Linked DNA regions of Homo sapiens: all the other regions are linked to region 4. The links are contacts of gene promoters, found by promoter capture Hi-C in human tissues and cell types (Jung and others, 2019). All regions are on one chromosome and are shown on one strand. The core of a region is centred on a gene start or on the middle of the fragment in contact, and the rest is flanking DNA. Distances in the headings are between cores, read along the strand shown. Region 1 has its middle 28 kb from the start of NGDN. Region 2 overlaps SLC7A8 (solute carrier family 7 member 8). Region 3 overlaps SLC7A8 (solute carrier family 7 member 8). Region 4 holds the start of SLC22A17 (solute carrier family 22 member 17).

The links. Contacts are between HindIII fragments. The study calls those that stand out against the background at their distance.
Region 1: a contact is called between a fragment that was not itself captured here and the fragment with the promoter of SLC22A17 in region 4, in 2 of the 25 tissues and cell types used here (IMR-90 fibroblasts and lymphoblastoid cells).
Region 2: a contact is called between a fragment that was not itself captured here and the fragment with the promoter of SLC22A17 in region 4, in 1 of the 25 tissues and cell types used here (spleen).
Region 3: a contact is called between a fragment that was not itself captured here and the fragment with the promoter of SLC22A17 in region 4, in 1 of the 25 tissues and cell types used here (psoas muscle).

Annotation. Positions count from the first base shown.
Region 1 is chr14:23,496,021-23,499,628 of GRCh38, forward strand. No RefSeq gene overlaps it. Among named protein-coding and RNA genes, the nearest start is that of NGDN, 28 kb to the left of the region's middle. The HindIII fragment of the contact is 8,706 bases long and covers 1-3,608 here.
Region 2 is chr14:23,151,610-23,155,131 of GRCh38, forward strand. The region is part of intron 3 of SLC7A8 (solute carrier family 7 member 8); the gene reads right to left. Among named protein-coding and RNA genes, the nearest start is that of SLC7A8, 30 kb to the right of the region's middle. The HindIII fragment of the contact is 7,030 bases long and covers 1-3,522 here.
Region 3 is chr14:23,131,553-23,134,689 of GRCh38, forward strand. It overlaps SLC7A8 (solute carrier family 7 member 8), which reads right to left. Exons shown (of 11, transcript NM_012244.4): 8 at 1-5. Among named protein-coding and RNA genes, the nearest start is that of CEBPE, 14 kb to the left of the region's middle. The HindIII fragment of the contact is 3,545 bases long and covers 1-3,137 here.
Region 4 is chr14:23,351,487-23,354,839 of GRCh38, forward strand. SLC22A17 (solute carrier family 22 member 17) reads right to left here and starts at 1,401. Exons shown (of 10, transcript NM_016609.7): 1 at 1,160-1,401; 2 at 462-965; 3 at 266-369. The coding sequence starts at 1,255. The HindIII fragment of the contact is 16,780 bases long and covers 1-3,353 here.

The DNA of each region.
Region 1 (3,608 bases), core at 488-2,987, 140 kb after region 4:
GTAAATGCAGAATGCCATCATTAGTCTGATGCATGCCATTGGGAAACCCTTGTCACCTTATGAGATGTGAACTGCCTGTAGCTTCAGTCCAGGCCATGTGTTATAGAGAAAAGTGCCCTGGATTATGAGTCAGAAGACCTGGGTTCTACTCTCACCTCTGCTACTTACCAACAGGGTAAATTTGAGGGAGTCAGCCTTTCAGTTGCCTCATCTTTAAAGAGAAAGTAATATCCACTCTGTGTTGATACATAGAACAGGAAATTTCCAAAGCAAAGCTTAAAGTAGAATGTGCTCTTAACCACAAAAACACTTTCCTCGGAGGCATTAAGTCTCCTGCGTCCAGGTAGGTCCTGAAGTATCCCTGCCTTGCAGATGAAGTAACTGAGACCTACAAAGGTTATATTTTGAGCTGATCTTGTCTTTGTTTCAGAGAATGATCTTTACTCAAATGTCCCCTTCTCTATGACCGCTCTATTTAAAATGGCCCTATCTTTCCCTCTATACAAACCCCTGTCCCCCTTCCCTGCTTTATTTTTCTCTGTGGCATTTGCAACATCTAACATACTACATATACTTAGAGATGGCTTATCTACTGAACATTGCCTTATGGTACAATTTCTGCTGGCATTTCAAGAGCAGAGGAATGTCGTGGCTAGAGTGAGCCTTGGACATTATGCATCTTGGGTCTTGCCTTCTGGCTAAAAAGGGATCCTGCCAAGTGGAAGGATCTTGGTAGTCTGTTTAGCTGGGCTCAGCTTCAAGGTCAAGGATAAAACTGGTAGTAAATAATATTCGGAAGAAGAAATCTGGGAAATAGGACTATTGTGTTCCTTTGTTCCTGAGCTTGTCACAGGCACTGTCCTGTTGGGGAAAGCCAAGAGGGTTCAGAGGGCTCAGGTTCCCTAGAGTGAATTCCTTGTAGATTGGTCCAGTTACTAATGAGGTTACTATATTAAAAATTCAGATTTATGGTGGCTCACACCTGTAATCCCACCACTTTGGGAGGCCGAGGTGGGCGGATCACTTGAGGTCAGGAGTTCGAGATCAGTCTGGCCAACATAGTGAAACCCCGTCTCTACTAAAAATAAAAAAACTTAGCCGGGCATGGTGGCGCATGGCTGTAGTCCCAGCAGCTGAGGAGGCCGAGGCAGGAGAATGGCTTGAACCCAGGAGATGGAGGTTGCAGTGAGCTCAGATCATACCACTGCACTCCAGCCTGGGCAACGGAGTGAGACTCCATCTCCAAAAAAAAAACCACTCAGATTTATGCAAAATTTAATGATTAGTGAAAACGGTTTTACTTACAAAAAGATTTGGGACATTTATGTGCTATAGATGACAAAACCCTGGACTAAGACTTAGCAGTTCTGGCCTGGGTGCAGTAACTCATACCTGTAATCCCAGCACTTTGGGAGGCTGAGGTGGGTGGATTGCCTGAGCCTAGGAGTTTGAGACCAGCCTGGGCAACATGGCAAAACCCTGTCTCTAAAACAAATACAAAAATTAGCTGGTTGTGGTAGCGCACGCCTATAGTCCTAGCTACTCAGGAAGCGGAGGTGGGAGGATCCCCTGAGCCTGGGAGGTCGAGGCTGCAGTAAGTCATGACTGTGCCACTGCACAACAGCCTGGGTGACAGAGTGAGACCCTGTCTCAAAACAAACAAACAGGGCTGGGCGCGGTGGCTCACACCTGTAACCCCAGCACTTTGGGAGGCTGAGGCGGGTGGATCACCTGAGGTCAGGAGTTCGAGACCAGCCTCAACATGGAGAAACCCCATCTCTACTAAAAATACAAAATTAGCAGGGCGTAGTGGTGCATGCCTGTAATCTCAGCTACTCGGGAGGCTGAGGCAGGAGAATTTTTTGAACCTGGGAGGTGGAGGTTGCGGTGAGCCGAGATCGGGCCATTGCACTCCAGCCTGGGCAACAAGAGCGAAACTCCGTCTAAAAACAAACAAACAAATAAACAAAAGACTTAGCTCTGCATTCCAATCTTGGCTCTGCAGCTAATTTCTGTGTGGCCTTTGGTAAGGCACTTAACTTCTCTGAAGTTGGGTTTCACTATTTCTTCCTAAGTTGCGATCTCTCTAGTTTGATCATATGAGATCTTAGGTTTAAAATTTTTTTTTTTTTTTTTTTTTGAGTTGGAGTTTCACTCTTGTTGCCCAGGTTGGAGTGTGGCGCAATCTCGGCTCACCGCAACCTCCGCCTCCCAGGTTCAAGCAATTCTCCTGCCTCACCCTCCCTAGTAGCTGGGATTACAGGCATGTGCCACCATGCCTGGCTAATTTTGTATTTTTAGTAGTGACGGGGGTTTCTCCATGTTGGTCAGGCTAGTCTCGAACTCCTGACCTCATGTGATCCACCTGCTGTGGCCTCCCAAAGTGCTGAGATTACAGGCGTGAGCCACCGTGCCCTGACAGGTTTAAAGTTTTTAATGCTAGGCCAGGTGTGGTGGCTCACGCCTGTAATCCCCAACAGTTTGGGAGGCCTAGGTGGGTGGATCACCTGAGGATAGGAGTTCAGACCAGCCTGGCCAACATAGTGAAACCCCGTCTCTACTAAAAATACAAAAATTAGCCTGGCGCGGTGGTGTGTGCCTATAGTCCCAGCTACTCGGGAGGCTGAGGCAGGAGAATGGCGTGAACACAGGAGGCGGAGGTTGCAGTGAGCCGAGATTGCGCCACTGCACTCCAGCCTGGGCGACAGAGCGAGACTCTGTCTCAAAAAAAATAAAAATAAAAATAAGTAAAAGTTTTTAAAACTTATAAAGGAAAGAAGGATATGAATATGTGTTAGCATTTATTGGGTGACTCCTAAATGCCAACCACAGGATAAGGGGTTTTTCTTAGGAAAACTAGCTCATTTAATCTTTACAGTCACTGGGGCATTTTGCAACCATCTTACAGATGAGGAAACTGAGGCTTTTGGAGATTTTTTCCTTAGAGAGTGAAAAAATTTTCCAGGGTTCCAGATTTATTACAAGAGCTCCTTTCTCAGATGTGGATCTTGGTCCTCAGGATGCTGCCTAGCTGCCCCCTTGGAATACTGCTGTTGCTGTACTGGCATGCTTCTTTGCTGAGCTTCAGCATGAGAATATAAATAGTTTTTCTTGGCTGGGTGCGGTGGCTCACGCCTGTAATCCTAGCACTTCGGGAGGCCGAGGCGGGTGGATCACGAGGTCGGGAGATTGAGACCATCCTGGCTAACATGGTGAAACCCCATCTCTACTAAAAATGCAAAAAATTAGCCGGGCGTGGTGGCAGGCACCTGTAGTCCCAGCTACTCGGGAGGCTGAGGCAGGAGAATGGCGTGAACCCGGGAGGCGGAGCTTGCAGTGAGCGGAGATCGTGCCACTATACTCCAGCCTGGGTGACAGAGCAAGACTGTCTCAAAAAAAATAAATAAATACAATAAAGAAATAAATAAAATAGTTTTTCTCATTCAGCGGTGTTAAAATGGGAATCATCAAACAAAACAGTCCTAAGCAGTGTTCTATGGCAATAGCCTGAATGGGACAGATTAGCAAGGCCACAAGATCTTTGGCTTTGCCCAAACCCAGTGGACCTCACCATTTGACCTGTTGAACTTTTCTTCTTGAAACTCTTC
Region 2 (3,522 bases), core at 769-3,268, 200 kb before region 4:
TAGCCAGATGTGGTGACACATACCTGTAGTCCCAGCTACAAGGGAGGCTGGGGTGGGAGGATCACTTGAGCCCAGGAATTCAAGGCTGCAGTAAGCTGTGATTGTGCCATTGCATGCTGGCCTGGGTAACCCTGTCTCTTAAAAAAAAAAAAAAAAAAAAAAGCAAAAAGCTTGCTGGGCACAGTGGGTCATACCTGTAATCCCAGCACTTTGGGAAGCTGAGGCGGATAGATCACTTGAGTTCAGGAGTTTAAGACCAGCCTGGCCAATATAGCAAAACCCTGTCTCTATTAAAAACACAAAAATTAGCATGCCTGTAATGCCAGCTATTCGGGAGGCTGAGAATCACTTGAACCTGGGAGGCAGAGGTTGCAGTGAGCCAAGATCGTGCCACTGCACTCCAGCCTGGGTGACAGAGATTCCACCTCAAACAAAACAAAACAAAAACAAAACAAAACAAAAGCAAAGAAAAAAAAAGCTCACTAAGAGTACACGTTATTCCCAGAGAGAGACTACTTGATAACTGTTTTCTTTTTTTTGAGAGCAGTCTCATTCTGTCACCCAGGCTGGAATGCAGTGGCCTGATGTTGGCAAACTACAATCTCTGCCTCCTGGGCTCAAGCAGTCCTCCCACCTCAGCCTCCTGAGTAGCTGGGACCACAGGCATGTGCCACCACGCCCAGCTAATTTTTTGTATTTTTGGTAGAGATGGGGTTTCGCCATGTTGCCCAGGCTGGTCTTGAACTCCTGAGCTCTAGCAATCTGCCCACTTTGGCCTCTCAAAGTGCTGGGATTACAGGCATGAGCCACCAATGTTTTCTTTTTTTTGAGACAGGGTCTTACTCTGTCATCCAGGCTGGAGTGCAGTGGCATGATGATGGCTCACTGCAGTCTCAACCTCCCCAGACTCAGGTGATCCTCCCACCTCAGCCTCCTGAGTAGCTGAGGTGTGTGCCACCAGGCCCAGCTAATTTTTGTATTTTTTGTAGAGACGGGTTATGCCAGGTTGCCCAGGCTGGTCTCTAGAACTCCTGGGCTCAAGTGAGCCACCTGCCTTGGCCTCCCAAAGTGCTGCGATTACAGGCATGAGCCGCCACACCCGGTGATGTTTTCAGGTGCTCCCTTGCTTTGGATACAGGACTCTGGCTTCTCATTGAGCTGGGCCAGCAGGGGGTCATTTTGTGCCTCCCTCAGGGAGCCAATGAACATTCCCACATGGATCCCTGAACCAATCTCATTTCTTCTACTAAGCCAGCTGCCACTCGATGAGCCACACTATTCTGGTCTGACAGGGTAAAGGTTGGGATAGGGCCACCTGGATACGGGGCTGGATTGGTTGTTATAAGGACAGTGCTAAGAAGAATGAACCAGTTGGGACTCTCCTTGTAGTCAACTCTTGGCCCTAGAGGTAAATATTTGAAGCCTGCGCCCTACCACCCAAGGCTTGTGTCCAGCCTCATGGGTGATCAGAAGGCAGGAATGACCTTAGAGACCCAGAACCTCATTTTATTTTTCTTTTACAGATGGGAGTCTCATTCTGTCGCCCAGGCTGAAGTGCAGTGGCATGATCATAGCTCACTGCAGCTTCCCAGTCCTGGGCTTGAGCGATCTGCCTGACTCGGCTTCCCAAAGTGCTAGGATTACAGTTGTGAGCCACCATGGCGGCCCCAGAACCTCATTTTATATGTGAGTGAATTTAGACCCCAGCTAATTCGCAGCAAAGACCAGACTGGGACAGCCCAATTCCCAGTTGCTTGTTCTGCCTCTGCCCCGCCTTCCTTCATTATACACAGATCACTCTGCTTTCCCTTGGCCGCTCCCACATCATCTCTCCTCCTGCTTGGGTCAGTGGTACCCATGGTCACTACTGCCAGTGCCACTTGGGACTCTGGGTCTGTCACCAAGACACTGGTTAGCCCCAGCCTGGACTGCTTTCTGTGCAGCAGGAAGGAAGATGCCAATATGGCAAAAGGGGAAGACTTTCACAGTTATGCCTCAGAAACCAAGAAAGGTGCATCCATTGCTCCCAGGGCTTTAGAAAGTCATTTCCCACAGGGATCTCCACCTTGGGTCCCCTCCCACCAGCCCCCTTAATCAATGTCACAGTCACATGTTCCCTCCAAACTCCCGGAACTCCATTTGGATTTCTCGGTCTCGCTGGCTTGCACCTTTCTCAGGAGTGGACTGGACTGGCTTGGAAAGGCTTGGTTTTCCTTTAACATTTCCAGAACCAGGCCACTCCTCCTTGTCTGTTCAGATAAGTGAAAACAGGCAGTAGAAAGGGGGAAAAATGTCCAGACTTGCCAAAGTCCATAAAGACAGATGGTGAAGAAGAGAGGGAAAGAGCACAAGAAACCACAGGGCGGGAGAGAGCAAGGGGAGGACAATGCAGATGAGTGGGAGAGAAAAAGGGCTTGAGAGGAGCAGAACAGAGAGAGGCCAGGACTGAAAACAGCAAGATGGAATGTACTAAGCAGACGGTTGCTGAAAAAGGAAGCAGTGACGCCACTTTGTAGAAATCAGAACGCCCTGTTCCTCTCCAAACCTGCAAAACAGGCACCTTTCTGGATGGAGCTCCCCAGCCCTCTGAAACGCCATAAATTTCACCTGGGTCATGGCCTGCCAGAAGGGTTGGCTTCTCAGCCTCACCTTTTGCTGGGGCGTTCACTTCTCTGCCTTCTGCCACGCTCTGGCCAGCTCCCACAGACTCCCTCCCCTCCAGCTGGAGCAAAAGGGGTGAGGCATGTCCCTCCCAGCAGCCCTCTGGGTCTGGGTGCCCAGGCTGGAGGTTGGAGCCGCTGGGCAGGGAAGCCGGGCCTGTGGGGGCGTGGGTGTGGCTACGCTCGGCTCTGTGATTGGCTGCACCGAGTTCCTTGGCCGCCTCCCCCGCTTGTGGAAGGAACTGAGCACGTGTTTCTAATTGTGGAAAAGCCGCTTCGGCTTGGCCTGTCCAACCGCAGGCGTTTCCAGATCTAGGAGGTAAGCAGTGCCGGCTGCCAAAAGGCGCTGATAGGCAAAGAAAACACGGAGGCCTGTTTGACCTCTAACGCACACAACCCAAGGCTCTGATAAGGTTCCAGTTCTGCCCACGCAGGCCACACGGAACAGTCTTTCCTCGTCAAAGACCCAGAGAGGCCTGGAGGTGTGGGGGAGTGGGCAGACACGGATCCAGCTTCACAGAACCCTCCTAGAATCCTTCTCTATTCCCCGCCCACCCCCACCTCAAGACATTTTTTAGAGCGGGTGAGGGGCCCACATTATAAAGTCCTTCCGCACCTGGATTATTGTACATGTAACATAACTTGTCTGATAAAGTTATACATATAACTTGACTGGTGAAAGAGAAAAACGTTAAAAAAAAAAAACCCACAAAAAGCCACACAACAGACAAAAAAAAAAAAAAAAAAAAATCAAAGCAGCCCTTCCTCATAAACTGCGCTTTGATCCCAGCTTCTATAAAGTGCACAGTGGGGAGTGTGGTTTTGAAACAGATCTTGCCTATCGCACGATAGTAACATTTCC
Region 3 (3,137 bases), core at 490-2,989, 220 kb before region 4:
ACAGCCTGTCAGGGAGAAAAGCAGGTCAGCCTGGGATAACCCAGGGACCACCAAGCCCCAGCTCCTTCATCCTTGCCTACCTTCTGCCCACACAGGGGCATCCCCACTCCAACCAGGCACCCGCCTTCACATGCATACTTTCCACCCCACCAGTCACAGAACCTGTGTTCACAAATGCAGGTGCAAGCAAACCAGAGGCAGCCAGTGGAAAAGTGGATGAACCCTGGGTATGTTAGACCCTGAATGTGGTATGGGTGGCTCAGGGTTACTGATAATTGTACTGTCACTCAGTGGGGTGTTCCCAATGCCTGGAAGGCTGCAGGAGCAGCCTCTGTCTGTTGCCTAAAATCTTCATCTCTTTAAAAGCATTCCTCACATCCTCAAAGGATGCAGATTCCCTAATACACTGGGACTGAACTGCATATGGAAAGCTTTAAAAACACTCTATTTTTTTTTTTTTTTTTTTTTTTGAGATGGAGTCTGACTCTGTCGCCCAGGCTGGAGTGCAGTGCTGCAATCTCGGCTCACTGCAACCTCCGCCTCCCAGGTTTAAGCAATTCTCTGCCTCAGCCTCCCGAGAAGGTGGGATTACAGGTGTGTGCCACCATGCCCAGCTAATTTTTGTATTTTCAGTAGAGACGGGGTTTCACCATCTTGGCCAGGCTGGTCTTGAACTGCTGACCTCGTGATCCACTTGCCTCGGCCTCCCAAAGTGCTGGGACTACAGGCGTGAGCCACCGCGCCTGGCCTAAAAACACTCTTGTCCTAGTCAGAGAGTAGTTAGTTGTCTTTGTGGGAGTAGGGAATTGGTGGTGGAAATGTTCTCTATCTTGTTTTGGGTAGTGGTTGAATTTTGACAACTGTCAAAATTCATCAAATGGAAGCCAGGCACAGTGGCACACACCTATATTTCTAGCTACTTGGGAGGCTGAAGCAGGAAGATTGCTTGAGCCCAGAAGTTCAAAGCCAGCCTAGGCAACATAGTGAGACTCTGCCTCTAAAAAACAACAATAAAAAACAAAAATGAACAAACACAAACAAAAAAACCCCCACAAAACTCATCAAAATGAACATTTATGATCTGCTTTTTTTTTTTTTTTGAGACGGAGTTTCACTCTTGTTGCCCAGGCTGGAGTGCAATAGCACGATCTTGGTTCACCGCAACCTCCGCCTCCCAGGTTCAAGCGATTCTTCTGCCTCAGCCTCCCGAGTAGCTGGGATTACAGGCATGCGCCACCACACCCAGCTAATTTTTGTATTTTTGGTGGAGACGGGGTTTCTCCATGTTGGTCAGGCTGGTCTCGAACTCCCGACCTCAGGTGATCTGCCCGCCTCGGCCTCCCAAAGTACTGGGATTACAGGCATGAGCCACTATGCCCAGCCTATGATCTGCTTTTTAAAAAAAAAATTGAGGCAGGGTCTTGCCATGTTGCCCAGGCTGGTCTCGAACTGGGCTCTAATGATCCTCCCACCTCGGGCTCCCAAAGCGTTGGGATGACAGGCATGAGCCACCACGCCCAGCCTGCATATTTTATTGTATGTAAATTGTACTTAAAAATTTATATCCTGTCTTGTGGGATTGAGTTTAAAAAAATTATATCCTGTCTGGGCACGGTGGGTAACACCTGCAATCCCAGCACTTTGGCAGGCTGAGGCGGGAGAATCATTTGAGCCCGGAAGTTTGAGGCCAGTCTGGGCAAAATAGTGGACCCTTGTCTCTACAAAAAATAAAAATAAAATTAGCCAGGTGTGGTGGCATGTGCCTGTTGTTCTAATTACTCGGGAGGCTGAGGTGACAGGATCACATGAGCCTGGGAGGCTGAGGCTGCAGTGAGCTGTGATTGTGCCATTGCACTCCACCCTAGGCAACAGAGCAAGAACCTGTCTCAAAAAAAAAAAAAAAAAAAAAGAGAAAGAAAAAATTGGAAATATCGTAAGTGCCTAAAAGTAAGAGGTCGATAAAATGAATTTGGCATAAGATGAAATGTTATGGGCTAGGCACAGTGGCTCATGCCTGTAATCCCAGCTCTTTGGGAGGCTGAGGTGGGTGAATCACCTGAGGTCAGGAGTTTGAGACCAGCCTGGCCAACATGGGGAAACCTCGTCTCTACTAAAAATACAAAAATTAGCCAGATGTGGTGGCACGTGCCTATAATCCCAGCTACTTGGAAGGTTGAGGCAGAATTGCCTGAACCCGGAAGGTGGAGGTTGCAGTGAGCAGAGATCATGCCCTTGCACTCCAACCTGGATGACAGAGTGAAACTCTGTCTCAAAGAAAAAAAAAAGGGAACATTATGTAGTCATAATGTTTTTGAAAAAATTTGATTACATGAGAATATGCTCAAAATATAACATCAAATGAAAAAACAGGACTGAAAACTATAATGCAAATAATTTTTTTTTTTTGAGACATGGTCTTGCTCTGTTGCCCAGGCTGGAGTGCAGTAGCACGATGATGGCTCACTGTAGCCTTGACCTCCCAAACTCAAATGATCCTCCTGTCTCAGTCTTCCAAGTAGCTGGGACTACAGGTGTGCACCACCACACCCAAATGCCAATTAATTTTAAGATTATTTATGGGCCTATTTATTAAAATGCTAACTGATTGTCTCTGGGTGGTGAAATTATGGTTAATTTTAATTTTCTTCCTTATACATTAGAGAAAAAATTTTAAAAATCGCAAAATGCAGCCTGGGCAACATGGTGAAACCCTGTCTCTACAAAAAATACAAAAATTAGCCAGGCGTGGTAGAGCGTGCCTGTAGTTCCAGCTACTGAGGGGGCTGAGGTGGGAGGATCACTTGAGCCTGGGAGGTTGAGGCTGCAGTGAGCTGTATTTGCACCACTGCACTCCAGCCTGGGTGACAAAGTGAGACCCTGTCTCCAAAAAAAAAAAAAAAAAAAAAAAGAAAAGATAAGGAAAAGGAAAAAATGAATAAAATTCTAAAATAGATGGAATATTTATAATCAGAATAAAGATTTTTTAACTTAAAAAATTAAACTTTTTATTTTTCCAATTTTTAGAGATGGGGTCTTGCTCTGTCACCCAGGCTGGAGTAGAGTGGCGTGATTATAGCTCACTGCAGCCTCCAATTCCTGGGCTCCAGTGATCCTCTAGTCTCAGCCTCCTGAGCAGC
Region 4 (3,353 bases), core at 151-2,650:
TTCACGGATAGGGGGCCACTAATTAGTGGGAATGGGACTAATAGTCCATAGAGGTCGAGTCATTCCCTTGCGCGGAAGAGGTAGGGAAGGGGTATTTCTTGATGGAGAGTGAAGTTGAGACATGGATAGACCATTGAATAGAAGTCCAGAGAAGACTGCAGAGTCCAGCGAATCGTCTTCGACCTCCTGTAAACGCCCGCTGCTTGGGTTAGCTTCCCTAGCACCCCCTCCTTTCTACCAGCCCTGCCCCCACGACAGCCCTCACCTGTCTGCGGGGTAACCCAGGAACAGGTAGCCGGAGGCAAAGCCCAAGATGAAGAGGATCTGCTCCAGGATCACCTGCCAGCCCAGGTCACACACCAGATCCCACTGGGGATGTGAGAAGGGTGCAGCGGGCGTGAGGCCCCGCCCTCGCCGCTCTCTGCCCGCCCCCAGACCCGCGGCCCGCCTGGCCGCCTCACCTGGCCGATGGCGTTGGTGGTGAGCACAGGAAGGCCATTATAGTCCCAATCCTTGAGGCAATGGTTGAAGTCCGGCGGGGCGAAGCCGCTGCACGAGGGGTCGGTACTGGTGGCGACACGGCTGGCGGCGCTGGCTGCTAGGGCAGCGCTGGCGACGCTGACGCCGCTGGCATTGGGAGGCTGCTCCCAGCCAGAGGCATTAGGGGGGAAGGCCCCGTAGTGGCAATGCAGCGGGGGCGCCAGCGTGAAGATGGGGTCCGAGGCCATGCCCAGAGCCACGAAGAGCACCGGCAGGCAGCAGAGGCCGAGCTGCAGCTGCTGGCCGCCGCCCAGCGCCCCCACCTGGGCGAGCAGCGCCTCAAAGCTGAGGGGGCCTGGGGGCACGGCCAGCGACAGGCTGCTGCCCAGTCCGTCGCCGCCCGCGTCTCCCTCCCCCTCCCGCTCGCGCTCCCGCTCACCCTGCAGCTGCTCCGTGGGCACCGCATCTCCGAGGGTCCCGACCTGCTGTTGGGGGGCAGGGGGTGGCAGGAGAAGGGTGAAGCGGAGGAAACCGCAGAGCAAGGGCAGGGGGCAGGTGGGAGGGAGGGCTAGGAAGGCAGTCAGGGGCGAGGGATGCGCAGGAGGAAAATGCCAGACGCTCCGCGGGGGCGGGGGTGCTGGGAGAGGATGGCGTCGCCACCTGGGGCTCGGGCACTTACTCCGTTGGAGGTGGGGGTGATCTCTACAGTGTTGTCGATTTTGCCGCCGCCCCCGCCATTGGGCTCGGGGGTCCCGGTGGCCACCCGGGGAGCCAGCTTGCCGACCGCAGGGGCCCTGCCGGCCCGCGCCGAAAGGATGCGCTGTCCTCTGGCTCAGTTGCGCGCCGGCTGCCCGGACACAGACAGCTCGAAGAGATCCCGCTCTGCAGCTCTGCAGCCGCGGGCGCCTCCTTGGTCTCTGCGATCTCTGCGCTGCTTTCCCCTCCCCTTCCTCTAGACTCTCCTCCCCTTCCCACGTCAGCAGAACCTTCGGTCCAGACTCTTCGTCAGAGAGAGGAAGGGGGGCCAGGGCCCAGGGGAGGGAGGGAAGGGGGGCTCTGTCGTCTCTTTCCTGGGTCTGCGGGCCATTGCGGTAAAAAAGAAAAAAAGCTGAAGGATAGTAGCTAGTCCAGGCAGATGCCAGAGATTCTTCCTCTGCTTCCAATCATTTGCCATCATTCATTCATTCATTCATTCACCCATTCACTAATCAGTAAAATTTAAGTGTCCACTACGTTCCAGGACTTGCACTAGACTTTAAGGATAACAGGGTGGACAAGTTCCACTTTGGAGACCTTTACTCCAGGGAGACAGACATGTAAACTGGCTATTACAGTACAACTTATGCATATGGAAGACTGTCTTGGCCCTGTATCAGCCCTAGCTTCAGTCCTCTACAAGGAGACCACTTTCTTGGGTTTCATCACTCCCATCCTGTTTGAATCTCCATTTCTCAACAGCATTTGGCACTGTTGACCCCTCTTCCTCTAAACACTCTCTTCCTTTGCTGCTGAGTCTCTCTTGCTCCCCTTTTCTCCATTGCAGAAATCGTCTTCCAGCTCATGGCATTGGTGCTGAGCATGGGCAGGCCATTATCCTCCCGGTTCTTGAGGCAATGATTGAAGTCCAGCGGGGTGACGCAACTGCAGGAGGGGTCTGTATTGGTAGTGATGAGGCTGTGGTGCTGGCTTCTAGGGCCATTCCCGTCTGTATCATTTAGACACCATGGTTCAGTGTCTGGAATCCTCACAGACTTAGTCCTAGGCCCTCCTCTCATCTCACACTGTCTCCACTTTGGGATCTTACCTATGCCCACAGCTTCAATCACCACCCATACAAACAATACAAACCTGACGCCCAGACTGACATCTCCAGCTTCCACCTCTGTTCTGAGCTCCAGACCTATGAAGCCACCTCTTATTTGACCTTCACCTTGGATGACTCACAGGGACCTCAAACTCAATATGTTCAAGACGAAATTTTTGCTTTTCCCCCATAACTTGGTTGGCTTCCACTGCTTTTTTCTGCAGCGAATGGCACCCTCAACATCGCATTGTGGCCAAATGCTCAGGCAACAGCCTTTAGAGCTTTCTCTTCCTTATCCATGTTGAATTCTTTACAAAATTCTGCCCATTTTACTTCCTATATATTCTCAGACATCCCACATCTCTCCATCTCTACCATTATTAGTCAAGCTACCTGTTGCAAAGACCACTTTAGCTCCCTAATTCCTAACTGGTGTTCAGCGTCCGCTTTGTTTATACCTCCTTATCACCCATATGTCATTTATAGTCAGATAGAATGATCTTTTCAAAATACAGATCTGATCATGTATCTTTCCTGCTAACCAGCCTTCAGTGGTGTCTCCTCACTGTCAAAGTGAATATTAAAAATCTAGATACCTCATACATGGTTCTACATGCCTGGTCACATGCTGTCTGTAGTTCCATCTCACTTCTTTCCCCAAACTCTCTGCACTCCAGCCACAGACCTTCTTCTAGTTTTCCCAGCGCCACGAGGCCTTTGAACAAGCTGGTTCCTGCACCTAAAAAGCTTCTTAGTCACATTTTTCTCATCCTTCAGCTCTCAGCCTAAACATCTTTGCTACACAGGAGTCTTCCCTAACCTCTAGAATTGCTACTCAAAGTGTGGTTCATGGACCAGCAGCATTCCTGGGAGCTTGTTAGAAATGCAGAATCCAAGCCTCACCCAGACCCTTGAATCATAATCTGTATTTTATCCAGATCTCCAGGCATAGGTATTATACATTAAAGGTAGAGACACACATCTCTAAGAGATTTGTTACCTGATAGGTACTTTATTCTCTAATCCTAGGTAAGGGCTAGAAAGCAGTGTTCTATCATTGTCAGCCGGG